Regions from separate parts of the Homo sapiens genome. Here regions 1, 3, 4 and 5 are each linked to region 2. Evidence: promoter capture Hi-C in human tissues and cell types (Jung and others, 2019). All regions are on one chromosome and are shown on one strand. Each heading gives the region's core, a stretch centred on a gene start or on the middle of the fragment in contact. The rest is flanking DNA. Distances are from core to core; before and after follow the strand shown.

Region 1 (2,700 bases), core at 57-2,556, 460 kb after region 2:
AAAAAATTGTTAAAGTTACCCAGGCATGGTGGCACTTGACTGAAGTCCTAGCTACTCAGGGGGCTGAGGTGGGAAGATCACTTAAGCCCAAGAGTTAAGGGCTGAAGTGAGCTATGTTTCTGCCACTGTACTTCAGCCAGAGGGACATAGCAAGGCTCTGTCTCAAAAAGATAACAAACAAAAATGGGGAGGACAGGTATTGACAGCTTAGAAATCATCGCAAAAAGCCCAGGCGCAGTGGCTCACGCCTATAATCCCAGCACTTTGGGAGGCCGAGACAGGCAGCTCACCTAGGGTCAGGAGTTCGAGACCAGCCTGGCCAACATGGTGAAACCCTGTCTCTGGTAAAAATACAAAAATTAGCTGGGCACGGTGGCACGTGCCTGTAATCCCAGCTACATGGGAGGCTGAGGCAAGAGAATTGCTGGAACCCAGGATGCAGAGGTTGCAATGAGCCAAGATCGCGCCACTGCACTCCAGCCTGGGAGACAGAGCAAGACTCTGCCTAAATGCCTAAAAAAAAAAAAAAAAAAAAAAAAAGGAAGAAATCATCACAAAATACACAAATATCTGGCAATTTTCTCCCTCTGCTTATATGTTTATAAACCCCAAGATGAGGCCGGGCGCAGTGGCTTATGCTTATAATCCCAACCCTTTGCAATGCAGTGGCAGGAAGATCACTTGATCCCAGTTCAAGACCAGCCTAGGCAACATAGTAAGACCATGTCTCTATAAAACAACAAAAATTAGCCAGGCATGGTATCCTGTACCTGTAGTCCAAGCTACTCAGGAAACTGAGTTAGGGGGATTATTTGGGCCCAGGAGGTTGAGGCTGGAGTGAGTCATGATTGCACGACTGCACTCCAGCCTGGGCAACACAGCAAGACCCTGTCTCAAAAATAAATAAATAGGGATTGGTGCAGTGGCTAATACCTGTTTGTAATCCCAGCACTTTGGGCAGCCGAGGAGGGAGGATCACTTGAAGTCAGGAATTTGAGACCAGCCTGGCCAACATGGTGAAACCCCATCTCTACTAAAAATACAAAAATTAGTCGGGTGTGGTGGCACATGCCTGTAATCCCAGCTACTCGGGAGGCTGAGGCAGGAGAATCCCTTGAACCCAGGAGGCAGAGGTTACAGTGATCCAAGATTGTGCCACTGCACTCCAGCCTGGTGAGAGCCTGTCTCAAGAAAAATAAACAAATACATAAGAATAAAAATTGGCCAGGCGCAGTGGCTCATGCCTGTAATCCCAGCACTTTGGGAGGCTGAGGCGGGCAGATCACGAGGTCAGGAGATCGAGATCATCCTGGCTAACGCTGTGAAACCCCGTCTCCACTAAAAAATACAAAAAAATTAGCCAGGCGTGGTGGCGGGCGCCTGTAGTCCCAGCTACCCTGGAGGCTGAGGCAGGAGAATGGCGTGAACCTGGGAGGCGGAGCTTGCAGTGAGCTGAGATCGCGCCACTGTACTCCAGCCTGGGCAACAGAGCAAGACTCCGTCTTAAAAAAAAAAAAAAAAAACAGAATAAAAATTAACAAATAAATAGGCTGGGCGCAGTGGCTCATGCCTGTAATCCCAGCACTTTGGGAGACCAAGGTAGGCCGATCAGTCGAGGCGAGGAGTTCAGGACCAGCCTGGCCAAAACAGTGAAACCCTGTCTCTACCAACAATAGAATAAATTAGCTGGCTATTGTGGTGCACACCTGTAATCCCAGCTACTCAGGAGGCTGAGGCATGAGATTCACTTGAGCCCAGGAGGTGGAAGGAGCAGTAAGCCGAGATCATGCCACTGCACTCCAGCCTGGGCAACAAAGTGAGACTCTGTCTCAAAAAAATAAACAAACAAACTAAAGGTGAAATGAAAAGTAATGACCCTCAACTTAAATTACACATGTTTCTAAACAAGCAAAATAGGATCACGTACCCCCACTCCTTGGTGTGAGATAGCCAACACTTCCATGAAGAATCTTATCCAAGGGACCAGCATTAGTTGCTTTCCTGTAAGACAAGTGATCTATGTTTGCTTATATTTAATCCCTGATGGTCTTGGTACACACTGTGATATTGAGTTCACCTCTCCGAAGTCTTGTCTTTTTTTTTTTTTGAGACGGAGTTTCGCTCTTGTCGCCCAGGCTGAAGTGCAGTGGTACAATCTCAGCTCACCGCAACCTCCGCTTCCCAGGTTCCAGTGATTCTCCTGCCTCAGCCTCCCGAGTAGCTGGGATTACAGGCGCCCGCCACCACGCCCAGCTAATTTTTTGTATTTTTAGTAGAGACGGGGTTTCACCATATTGGGCAGGCTGGTCTCGAACTCGTGACCTCAGGTGATCCGCCCGCCTCGGCCTCCCAAAGTGCTGGGATTACAGGCGTGAGCCACCGCGCCCAGCCCAAAGTCTTATAATACTATCATAATGGTTCTGTCTTGTAATTGGGCATATAGCAAATGTATTTCACCTCCAAAGTAAAGGGATTATTTCCAAGTACACACCAGTATGTAGTATGGTGAACAAAAATTACACTTAGACTATTATTTCTCAGATGGGACTCCAGGTCTGATGAGTCTTGAGATAAAACCTATGGTAACCAACAACTTAGCGATACTGATACTCAGAAGTTCAAATACAATCATCATTTTGGAAGAGAAAGGACATATTATCATACAGGCTTAATAGAGATGTATAAAATAGGACCCTAATC
Region 2 (2,700 bases), core at 162-2,661:
TTTTACATACATATATTTCTTTTTAACAAAAAAGAGGGATCACTATATATAATACTTTGTAATCTGCTTTTTTCAATGAATTCTCTTTCCATGCTAATAACCTTCTACAAGTAATCATATTTTAATGGCTATGTGTCATTCCACCAAGTAAAATAATCTTAATTTGTTTAATCCATAAGGCTGTTTGTAACCTTAACTTTTCACAGTAGGCGTTTTGTTTGTTTGTTTGCGATGGAGTTTCGCACAGTCTCCTGGGCTGGAGTGCAGTGGCGCGATCTCGGCTCACTGCAAGCTCCGCCTCCCGGGTTCAAGCGATTCTCCTGCCTCAGCCTCCCTAGTAGCTGGGATTACAGGTGCCCGCCCCCACGCCCAGCTAATTTCTGTATTTTTAGTAGAGACGGGGTTTCACCGTGTTAGCCAGCCTGGTCTCGATTTCCTGACCTCGTGATCCGCCTGCCCCGGCCTCCCAAAGTGCTGGGATTTACAGGCGTGAGCCACCGCACCCGGCCAACACAGTAGGTGTTTTAAAGCATTTTTATTACAATAGCATAAATCCGGCCTTGGCTTCTTCCTGTTTCTCTGAGAAATGTGGACAGTGGGGCTTGGGCCCGTGGGCTCTTCAAAGACTGTCAGTCACCAGGCGGGGACTTCACTGTGTCAACTGTGAACTACATACATGTTTAAAATAAATATAAACAAAAATTTAAAAATGATAAGCCCAAATTCTTCTAAAACTCAAGTCTCCACTTATAGTTCCTTATTTTCCTCACTCAGAGCTGGACGTTTCGTAGGGAAAAAGCAAGCTTTTGTGAAAATTCTAAAGGTATAATCCTAAATTATTTCTGGTTTCCGCTCACCCCTCTAGCGAATAAGAATCACAGCCCCAAATAATAATAATAAAATGATGTTTCATGCCCCCTGTTCTATCCCACTAATTTTGACCGCGCGTGAAAGGTTTTGAGGGTTCAATTGGATGAACCTCCCCGCCCCCCACACCTTTAAGATAAAAACTACATTCACAGGGATGTCTGTTTTAACATAAAACTCTTGTAAGGGCCCCACCCCATCTGTCGGGCAGCTGCCCCCAAACATCTCCAAAGCCGCAAACTAGGGAAGCCTAAAGGACAAACTGGTCAACAGGAGAATCAGACCACACGGGGTACATGTTTCGCTCCCTTCAGTCCATGAAAGATGAAATTATCGCAATAAAATACTGGGAAAAAAAACCCTCTTTTACCACAGATTTTGACAGTTTTTCCGGCTACAGAGTCACAGGAAAGTGGGAGTTAGTCGTTTTGCCCCACCATCCTCAAATTTCTTAGTGTTTAGAAAAGAAAATATCTCCTCAAGAGCTTCCCGCCAGGAGGCGAGAGGGTCACACTCCCGTAGGCTCCGGAGCTGCAGCCCTACCCACCAGGCGTCCCCGCGGCCTCTAGAATATTGTAGAATCTTCCCAAGAGCCCCCGCGGGAAGGAGGCCCGCCCCCTCATGAATAGCAAGCAGCCTCAGCTCTCGTAGTGCCCGCCTCCCTCATGAATATTGTAGATCTTCCCAGAAGCCCTAGCGGGAAGGAGGTTCCCCCCCGCCTCCCGCCTCCCCGCTTTATGAATAGCAAGAGAGCCAGCTCCCATGGTGCCCTCCGTCTCATGAATAACTAACAAGGGCGAGGTTCCTGGAGCCCAAACTCAGGCCTCAGCCACCCTTCGCTCCAAGCTGAAGACAAGAAGGGGCTGGAGCCGTTACGGTGTGGGGAAGGGGAGGGTGTAGCCCAAGATCCTGAACGTGGCGAGCCACGTCTCTGCTCCACTGCCTTTCCCTTCACCTAGTTTTGAGACAATTTTTGAGTTCCTCCCACCCCCACTGACTCCAGTAGGGCAAGTTACAAGGGGTTTCATCAAACCTTTTGGTGGAAAAAAACCTCCAGACATTCCTTTTTAAATTTGTCTTGCCGGTGCGGTGGCTCACGCCTGTAATCCCAACACTTTGGGAGGCCGAGGCGGGAGGCTCCCTTGAGTCCAGGAGTTTGAGACCAGCCTGGGCAACATAGGGAGACCCCCACCCCCAGCCATAACCCCGCTCCCGGTCTCTAAATAAACACATAAATAATAAATCTGTCTGGAATCAAAGGAAGATGTGTGTCTCCATCCTCTCAAGATGAAATCAAGACAAATCTTTCTAGCTAGGCCTTCCTGGCTAGAAGATTAAATTCTCATTCATTCATTTCTTCATTCATTCTGTAACTATTTATTGAAGCCTGCTCTGGGCCGGGCACAGGAGTAGGCCCTAAGGATGGAATAGAGAACAAGACAGATACGTTTCCTGCTTTAATGGAGTTTATTAGCCTAATGGGGAAGATAGAATGAACAGACAGAGCATCTACAGATGTTGAGAGCAGTTCCGGTGAGAGCAGCGTGACAGAGGAAATAAGACAGAATGATGGGGTGTGTGTGTGTTGGCGGAGAGCTACTTTAGATAGACTGATACTCAAGGTCCCTTTGATATGACGATTTGAGAACTGATGGAGGAGAAGGAGCCAGTCAGGAGAAGGGCTGAGGGAAGAGGGAATGGGGGAAAGATTCTACTTTTGTAGATCAATTCTACATTATACCCAACACAAAATATATAAGGAACTACATAAAGACTGAGTGGAAATTTAGGATTAGTTGGCATGCTGTTATTTTATATAGTCACATATATTCA
Region 3 (2,700 bases), core at 198-2,697, 260 kb after region 2:
GGGGGAGTGCTGAGTGTGAGCGGCGGCCTCCCCACACCCCTTTCAGCGCCAGGAGTCTGGGCTCCGCCTGCCTTCGCGGGGAGTAATTTATTCATGGTGACTCCCTCAGGAGTAACAATCATCCATAATTAGGGTTAATGATGACATTCATTAATTACGATGACTTCTCTTTTTGCTTCTACCCGCTCCCCCTCCTCTGGTCCCGCTCCCGTGGTGGGGCGCGGGGCTGCCTGTCTTTCTGGTCTGGAGCCACAACCGCAGGCCCCCGTCCTCGCCCGTGACCGACGGCCGGCGCTGCTGCAGGCCCCCTCGCGGACTCCGCAGCTGCGCACCCCCGGCCGCGGCCTCGCGTCCCCGAGCCCAACAGGGCTAGGAGCGGGGAATGCAGGACTGCGGAGGGGCAGGGAGAGACGCCCTGAGACGCGGAGATAAACACCCGGAGACGCCGGGAGAGACGGGGAGAGACGCACACAGAGACACCAAGACACAGACACGCAGGTTGTAGAGACAAATTCAGAGACACGAGCGAGGATAGAGGCGCGGACTGAGCCCGGGACTGGGACCCGGCGGCCGCTGGAGGGTGCGCCTCGCACGCACAGCCGGGCGCGTACCCCGCCCGCACCGCTCCACGCGCGCCCTCCGGCCTCGCTGCGCCCATCTCTCCAACGAAGACCAGTGGCCGCCTCCCCAGAAGGTCGCGATGGCGCGCGCGGGCGTGCGGTGCCGGTGTGATCGGGGGCTCCTTGTGGCCCCTCGTCGCCAACCCACTCCTACCCCCGGGAGCGGCGCGGAGCCTCAGTGGTCACGCGGGCCTCGCGACCGCGACCCTAGGACGCCCGGGCCCACAGGAGGACCCCGCCGGGAAGAGGGCGCCCGGGCCCGGGGCGCGGACAGGCCTTGCGCCCCCCAAGTTACCTTGGTTTCCTGGAGGGCGGAGACGGTCCCTGGGGGGCTGTGGGTGGCCGCGTCATCCGGTTCGTTCTCCTTCTCGCTCATCTCGGTCATGGTTCGGGGAGAGGGGAGGAGAGGGTGCCGAGATCCGACGGCAGGCCCACCGCGGGCAGGCTGCGGGTGGCGGGCGTCTCCGGGACTCTGAAGCCGTTCTCCAGAGGCTGCCCCCAGTTAGCCCCCGGCACGGCAGCCCCCAACCCGCGGGAGCGGGCAGAGAAAGTTGCCGGGGTGGCGGGCGAGGGGAGGCCACCACGCTGAGCCGCAGGAGCGGGACGACCCCGGGCGCGAGGACCGAGGGTCTGCAGAGGATGCTGCTCGCAGCGCGGGGAGGAGGGAAGTGGGGCCGCGGGGATGAGCCGAGGGAGGGAGCCAAGGAGCTGTCCGTGTCCAGCCGGCTCCGCCGTCCGCTGCGCCCGCCCCCCATCCCCTCCCCTCCCCCGCCGGCCCCAGCCCGGCACCCGGCGGCCCCTCCGCCCAGTCCTCGCCGCCCAACTTTGATTTAGGAGGTCGCCTGGTCCCGCCCCCTGCCCTACGCCGCTCCCCCGCGCAGCCCTGCAAATCAGGCTCTCAGCTATTGGCTGCCTCGGTGGCCAGGAGGGCGAACTGGGCGGAGTCTTGGGGGGCTCGACACGATGGGGCGGGGCTTGGCGGGGAAAGAAGCGGAGGAGGGAGTTTCACACTGAAAAACCCGGGATGGAGGGGCGTGACCAGATTGAGGGAAGCTTGGGGAGATCATAGTAGCGTCTGGATGGGTTGCAGGGAATAGAAATAGGTTGGGGCCGCAGCAAGATAGCGGAGAGTGAGATCGAAGCTAGGACTTCCAAAGAGCGAAGATTGATAGATGCCAGAGGTTGGTGAAGGAAGAATGGGGACCCATCTGTGCCATTAATTGGATGCCTTTATACCCTGAAAAGGCTCTCTCCAAATATACACACAACTGGACTATGGTGTATGTGTCAAAGGCCAGGCCGGACAATTCCTCCTTGTGATGGAAAGCCGGATGACTCTATCCCCTTCCAGTCTTGGCGTCTGAACTTCAGCAGAGATGGGGGCTCAGTCCTCACACCCAAAGTCCCCAAACTTCTCTGAGACACGCTCCCCTCCTAAAGATCCTACCACAACTGGAGTTAGATCAGGGGATAATACAGAGAGGTGGGGGAAGAGGTCCTCACCATCACCTTCCAAGGTGCCCCTCTCTCCACAATAACCTTCTATTTTTTATTTTTTTATTTTTTTATTTAGAGACAGGGTTTCACTCTTTCACCCAGGCTGGAGTGCAGTGGTGCGATCATAACTCACTGCAGTCTCAAACTCCTAGGCTCAAGCAATCCTCCCACCTCAGCCTCTCTAGTTGCTGGGACCACAGGCATACGCCACCATGCCTGGCTAATTTTTAAAATTTATTGGTAGAGACAAGTCTTGCTATGTTACACAGGATGATCTCCAACTCCTGGGCTCAAGCGATCTTCTCACTTTGGCCTCCCAACGTATTGGGATTACAGGCGTGAGCCACTGTGCCCGTTCAAGATATTTCCAATATTTCTTCTTCTCCTTCTCTTCTTCTTCTTTTTTTTTTTTTTTTTTTTTTTTTTTTTTTGGAGACAGGATCTTGCTCTATTGGCCAGGCTGTAGTGCAGTGGCTTGATCACACCTCACTGTAGCCTGGACCTCCTGGGCTCAACCCTCCCAAGTAGCTGGGACCACAGGCACATGCCACTGCACCCAGCTAATTTTAAAATTTTTTGTAGA
Region 4 (2,700 bases), core at 35-2,534, 440 kb after region 2:
CTCACCCCCATCTGGCCGTCCAGTGGGTCTTCACCCCCAGGGCCACTGGTGACAACCCCATGCTTCAGTTTATCTATGACAGCTGTCAAGGACGGCTTCTTGTTTCTGCTGGGAGATTTTCCTTTAGAACTCCCATGCTGGTTCTGAGAGGATGACATGGAAGAGCCACTTGAGGAAAAGGAGGAGGAAGATGCCGTACAGGAATTAGATGATGGGGGAGTTTTCTGGGACAACGAGCCTGAGGATCCTAACCCTGAAGATGACTTCATGCCAGAGCTTGAACTAGTTCCAGACATATGAGAACCACCAGAACCTGAACTGATAGGGGACTTGGCTTTAGAGGATGGAGGAGTTCCAGGAACAGGCTTCATTGGAGAGGCAAGCTTGTCAGAGCCTCCAGGTGGCCTTGAATGAGAAGGGGATATGTTTGGTTTACTTAAAGAAGGATTCATAAGTGATGATGGCTTTCCTTGAGGTTTCATCTTGGTGCTGCTAGAGCCACTGCTCAGTCCATGCTTGGTTATGGGAGAGGAGCCTGGCTTCCCCCCAGACTGGGATGAATTTTTGGACTGGCTAGATCCAGAAGACCCCTGGCTAGAATACATACTGCTACTTAACTTGGAACTTGATGAACCTTCTGATTTACTGCTTTTCATCTTCCCTGAGGTGGAAGCAGATGAGGAAGAGGAGGAAGAATGGCTATGGTGGCTTTTGCTGCCTGAGGAAGACACAGAACCACTGCTGGTATACTGACTGTGAGAGGAAGGCTTGCCCACCATCACTGTTCCCTTAGGAATCTGAATAGTGATTTTGGGAATGGGTGGTGTGGCAACACCTGGGGGAGTCTGAGATCTTCCTGCACTGCCTGGCGATTTAGATCCACCTGTACTGGTAGGTGGGGTAAAAGGTCTGTTAGAAGAACTATGAGATGGAGACTTTCCCTCAGTGTCTGCCTTCTTCCGCTTTGGAGGCTTATCTTTGCTTTTCCCATCATTAGAAGGGGTCCGACTGCGCTTCCCTGGTTTGCTGTCTAATCCGGGCCCCGAGAGAGTACTATTACTGGTGCCATTGCCTTCCTTTACCCTCTTTTGAGTCTTTTCTTTCCCTAAGTCCCCAGTGGTCAGTAAAGGACCCTGACTACCACTGTGATGCTCCATAAGATCTGCAGGAGCTAAAGCTTTGCCGGCTACTGAAATAATACTGAAATCAACTGTGTCGGCTTGGTTATTGCCCTTAAACTTGGTCTCCCCATTATCACCTCCAAGCATTGGCACCCCCAAAGTATTTAGTGCCTGAGATGCAAATCCTTTGAAATCATCATTATCCCCACTTTGGCTGCTTTCATCAAAATATTCTTCTCCAAAACCACTTTGGCTCTGGCTGTTCAATAAATCAGGATTGAAATCTACTCCATCATGAAAAAAATGATTGGTAGGAGAGTCACTACTGGGGCTTCCAGCAGCATCTGCAATAAGATCAGCTGGATCAGTGTATGGATTTTCATTATTGTTAGTTTGAAAGACATCAGAGTCAAACAGGGTACTCTGAGAATGCCCAGAGCTTGAAGAATCTCGAAGAGGGGTGCCAATGGCTGGGCAATCATCACTAGTGCTGGGAAGTTTAGAAGCTTCTTCTGCAATGTCTGAAAGGATGTCAGTTACATCTGGGCCAATGCTGTCTGAACTGGATAGTCGGACCATCCTTTGAATACTGGGTTGGGGGTGAGGTACTGGTTGTGGGTAAGTTGTTGGGGGAGTGCTACACTGGCTTGGAGCTGGAGTGATGTGTGGCGTATCCAGCGTGTCAGCTGTCATGTTGACATCAAAGATAGGGTTCTGTGAGTCAACATCCATTGAAAATAGCTCCCTCTGAAAGTCATCTTCAGTCTGGTGCTTTGGTTTCTCAGGTGGTAATCTTGATGACTTCTTTTTCTTGGTCTTGTTGCTCCCCGAGCATATTTCCATGCGGGGTGAGCCGGAAGAGGAGTTCTGCCTTTCTAAAGGGCTGCTTCCATAAAGGGTTGAGAAATCCTGGGCAGGATTATCTTTAAGAAGGTTCATGAGCATCGGGTGGTTCTTGGTGTTGCCGGCCATCGAAGAGACAGGTGGCGGCGTGTGATGAGGAGGGGTCGGACTCGAGCCAATGGTAGACCCCCCGTTCCCTGTGATTTGCAACAAACTGGTAAGAATTGGGTTCTGAGACACCTTGCTGAAGTCCTCCCCATGGCCCACCGACTCATGCCGATCTTTGATGCTCATGCTCATATTAAACAAGGTGGTAATGGGACCCCCCGGAAAGGTGTTGGTTGGTGTAGTGGTACCACTCATTGGGTTGTTGCCTGTGGTCATGCCATACCCTGGGCTGCTAGCCGGGGGCAGGTTCTTTTTCACCATGTCTTCAACTGTCTCTGCAATGAGGGACAGTGCTGGGGTGTCGGCTTGAATGGTTTCAGCTTTCCTCCGAATAGCCCTCATCGTCACAGGGATGGACATACATCTGCAAAATAAAGAAGAAAACAAAGTTAACATTGCAATAGCTGCTGAATGAGACCTGAGATTTAGATATAACATCAGAGTTTTGCAGTAAGCAGTTTTCAGGTAGGGCAAATAATCTGTAAGACAAAAATAGTTCTATCAAATACCAGAGCTTTGGGTAAATACATTCTAAAAATCTAACCCAACATAAAATTGTCAACCTCTT
Region 5 (2,700 bases), core at 79-2,578, 490 kb after region 2:
ATCTCAAGATGGGATGAGCTTTTAGGTTCTGAGATTTGAAGCAAAGATTGGTAAGGAGACAACACCATAGGATGGAAGAGCTTGTGTTTTAGTCTCAGAAAGACATGAATTTGAATGTTGACTGTGGCACTTGTTGGACCAAATTATTCAACTTCCCTGAGGCTGGGATTCCTTTTCTATAAAACAGGGATGAAAATCTCGTGTTTTGCAGGATAATTGTGAAAATTAGAGATAATGTATGTAAAATTCTTGGCAGGTAGCACACACCCTATATGTGGGAAGCACTGTTAAAACACTCAGGGACTTGGGTTGAAATGTCCCGACATTTGTCTTTTGCTCTGTAAAAAATAATCTCAACCGGGCGCGGTGGCTCAAGCCTGTAATCCCGCCACTTTGGGAGGACCAGACGGGCAGATTGCTTCATTCTAGGAGTTCAAGACCAAGGATCGCGGATTGCTTGAGTCTAGGAGTTCGAGACTAGCCTGGGCAACATGGCGAAACCCCATCACTACGAATAATAGAAACAAATTAGCACGGCGTGGTGGCGCGACTCTATAGTTCCAAGTACTCGGCAGGATGAGGTGGGAGGATTGCTTGAGCCCAGGAGGTGGAGGCTGCAGTGAGCCGAGATCGTGCCACTGCACTCCAGTCTGGGCAAAAGAGAGAGAACTTGTCTCAAACAAACAAAAAAATGGCCCGGCGCGGCGGTTCACGCCTGTAATCCTAGCACTTTGGGAGGCCGAGGCGGGAGGATCACTTGAGGTCAGGAGGTCGAGACCAGCCTGGCCAACATGGTGAAACCCTGTCTCTACTAAAAACAAAAAAGTTAGCCGGGCGTGGTGGCGGGCGCCTGTAATCCCAGCTACTCGGGAGGCTGAGGCAGGAGAATCGCTTGAACCCAGGAGGTGGAGGTTGCAGTGAGCCGAGATCGCGCCACTAACACTCCAGGATGGGCTACAGAGCGAGACTCCGTCTCAAAGGAAAACAAAAAACAAACAAAAAAAAGTCATCCTGGTAGTTAAAAGATTTGTTAAAAAGGATGTTGAAATTATTTTGTCACGGAGCCTGGGAGTGTTTGTTTAATCAGTTACCGATAAAGTTTTGGTTAAAAAAAAAAAACTCGGTTTGTTCCGTTTCAATAAAGCTTTGCTCAAACGGGGAGCTCCGGGAGCTCATCGCGAGACTCAGGTGAAACGCGTTTCTAGTTTGGGACCTGATCTCGCGTTGTTTGATAAGCAGGGGAATGAGGTGAAAGCGAAGCACGAAACATCGCGAGAGGCTACTGGACTCTCGCGACGATTTCTGGGATTGCCCCTCCCCCCTTCCCCAAGTGCCGTTTCGGTTTAATCTAGTGTGTGACTGGGTCTGTGTGAGGGAGAGAGTGTGTGTGGTGTGGAGGTGAAACGGAGGCAAGAAAGGGGGCTACCTCAGGAGCGAGGGACAAAGGGGGCGTGAGGCACCTAGGCCGCGGCACCCCGGCGACAGGAAGCCGTCCTGAACCGGGCTACCGGGTAGGGGAAGGGCCCGCGTAGTCCTCGCAGGGCCCCAGAGCTGGAGTCGGCTCCACAGCCCCGGGCCGTCGGCTTCTCACTTCCTGGACCTCCCCGGCGCCCGGGCCTGAGGACTGGCTCGGCGGAGGGAGAAGAGGAAACAGACTTGAGCAGCTCCCCGTTGTCTCGCAACTCCACTGCCGAGGAACTCTCATTTCTTCCCTCGCTCCTTCACCCCCCACCTCATGTAGAAGGGTGCTGAGGCGTCGGGAGGGAGGAGGAGCCTGGGCTACCGTCCCTGCCCTCCCCACCCCCTTCCCGGGGCGCTTTGGTGGGCGTGGAGTTGGGGTTGGGGGGGTGGGTGGGGGTTGCTTTTTGGAGTGCTGGGGAACTTTTTTCCCTTCTTCAGGTCAGGGGAAAGGGAATGCCCAATTCAGAGAGACATGGGGGCAAGAAGGACGGGAGTGGAGGAGCTTCTGGAACTTTGCAGCCGTCATCGGGAGGCGGCAGCTCTAACAGCAGAGAGCGTCACCGCTTGGTATCGAAGCACAAGCGGCATAAGTCCAAACACTCCAAAGACATGGGGTTGGTGACCCCCGAAGCAGCATCCCTGGGCACAGTTATCAAACCTTTGGTGGAGTATGATGATATCAGCTCTGATTCCGACACCTTCTCCGATGACATGGCCTTCAAACTAGACCGAAGGGAGAACGACGAACGTCGTGGATCAGATCGGAGCGACCGCCTGCACAAACATCGTCACCACCAGCACAGGCGTTCCCGGGACTTACTAAAAGCTAAACAGACCGAAAAAGAAAAAAGCCAAGAAGTCTCCAGCAAGTCGGGATCGATGAAGGACCGGATATCGGGAAGTTCAAAGCGTTCGAATGAGGAGACTGATGACTATGGGAAGGCGCAGGTAGCCAAAAGCAGCAGCAAGGAATCCAGGTCATCCAAGCTCCACAAGGAGAAGACCAGGAAAGAACGGGAGCTGAAGTCTGGGCACAAAGACCGGAGTAAAAGTCATCGAAAAAGGGAAACACCCAAAAGTTACAAAACAGTGGACAGCCCAAAACGGAGATCCAGGAGCCCCCACAGGAAGTGGTCTGACAGCTCCAAACAAGATGATAGCCCCTCGGGAGCTTCTTATGGCCAAGATTATGACCTTAGTCCCTCACGATCTCATACCTCGAGCAATTATGACTCCTAC

The links. The method cuts DNA at HindIII sites, captures the fragments that hold promoters and counts their contacts. A contact is called where the count stands out against the background at its distance.
Region 1: a fragment that was not itself captured here is called in contact with the fragment with the promoter of FBXO47 in region 2 in 1 of the 25 tissues and cell types used here (liver).
Region 3: the fragment with the promoter of STAC2 here is called in contact with the fragment with the promoter of FBXO47 in region 2 in 10 of the 25 tissues and cell types used here (adrenal gland, dorsolateral prefrontal cortex, liver and 7 more).
Region 4: a contact is called between a fragment that was not itself captured here and the fragment with the promoter of FBXO47 in region 2, in 2 of the 25 tissues and cell types used here (lymphoblastoid cells and small bowel).
Region 5: the fragment with the promoter of CDK12 here is called in contact with the fragment with the promoter of FBXO47 in region 2 in 3 of the 25 tissues and cell types used here (adrenal gland, heart left ventricle and mesendoderm cells).

What each region holds. Positions count from the first base shown.
Region 1 is chr17:39,429,188-39,431,887 of GRCh38, forward strand. It overlaps MED1 (mediator complex subunit 1), which reads right to left. Exons shown (of 17, transcript NM_004774.4): 9 at 1,928-2,001. Among named protein-coding and RNA genes, the nearest start is that of MED1, 21 kb to the right of the region's middle. The HindIII fragment of the contact is 9,295 bases long and covers 1-2,700 here.
Region 2 is chr17:38,965,992-38,968,691 of GRCh38, forward strand. It overlaps FBXO47 (F-box protein 47), which reads right to left and starts at 1,412. Exons shown (of 11, transcript NM_001008777.3): 1 at 1,238-1,412. The HindIII fragment of the contact is 17,690 bases long and covers 1-2,700 here.
Region 3 is chr17:39,224,498-39,227,197 of GRCh38, forward strand. It overlaps STAC2 (SH3 and cysteine rich domain 2), which reads right to left and starts at 1,448. Exons shown (of 11, transcript NM_198993.5): 1 at 916-1,448. The coding sequence starts at 1,005. RefSeq lists an enhancer at 706-1,206. The HindIII fragment of the contact is 22,351 bases long and covers 1-2,700 here.
Region 4 is chr17:39,408,226-39,410,925 of GRCh38, forward strand. It overlaps MED1 (mediator complex subunit 1), which reads right to left. Exons shown (of 17, transcript NM_004774.4): 17 at 1-2,496. Among named protein-coding and RNA genes, the nearest start is that of FBXL20, 8.0 kb to the left of the region's middle. The HindIII fragment of the contact is 5,074 bases long and covers 1-2,700 here.
Region 5 is chr17:39,460,158-39,462,857 of GRCh38, forward strand. CDK12 (cyclin dependent kinase 12) reads left to right here and starts at 1,329. Exons shown (of 14, transcript NM_016507.4): 1 at 1,329-2,700. The coding sequence starts at 1,915. RefSeq lists enhancers at 1,106-2,030, 1,391-1,440, 1,531-1,590, 1,756-2,700, 1,981-2,110. The HindIII fragment of the contact is 12,986 bases long and covers 1-2,700 here.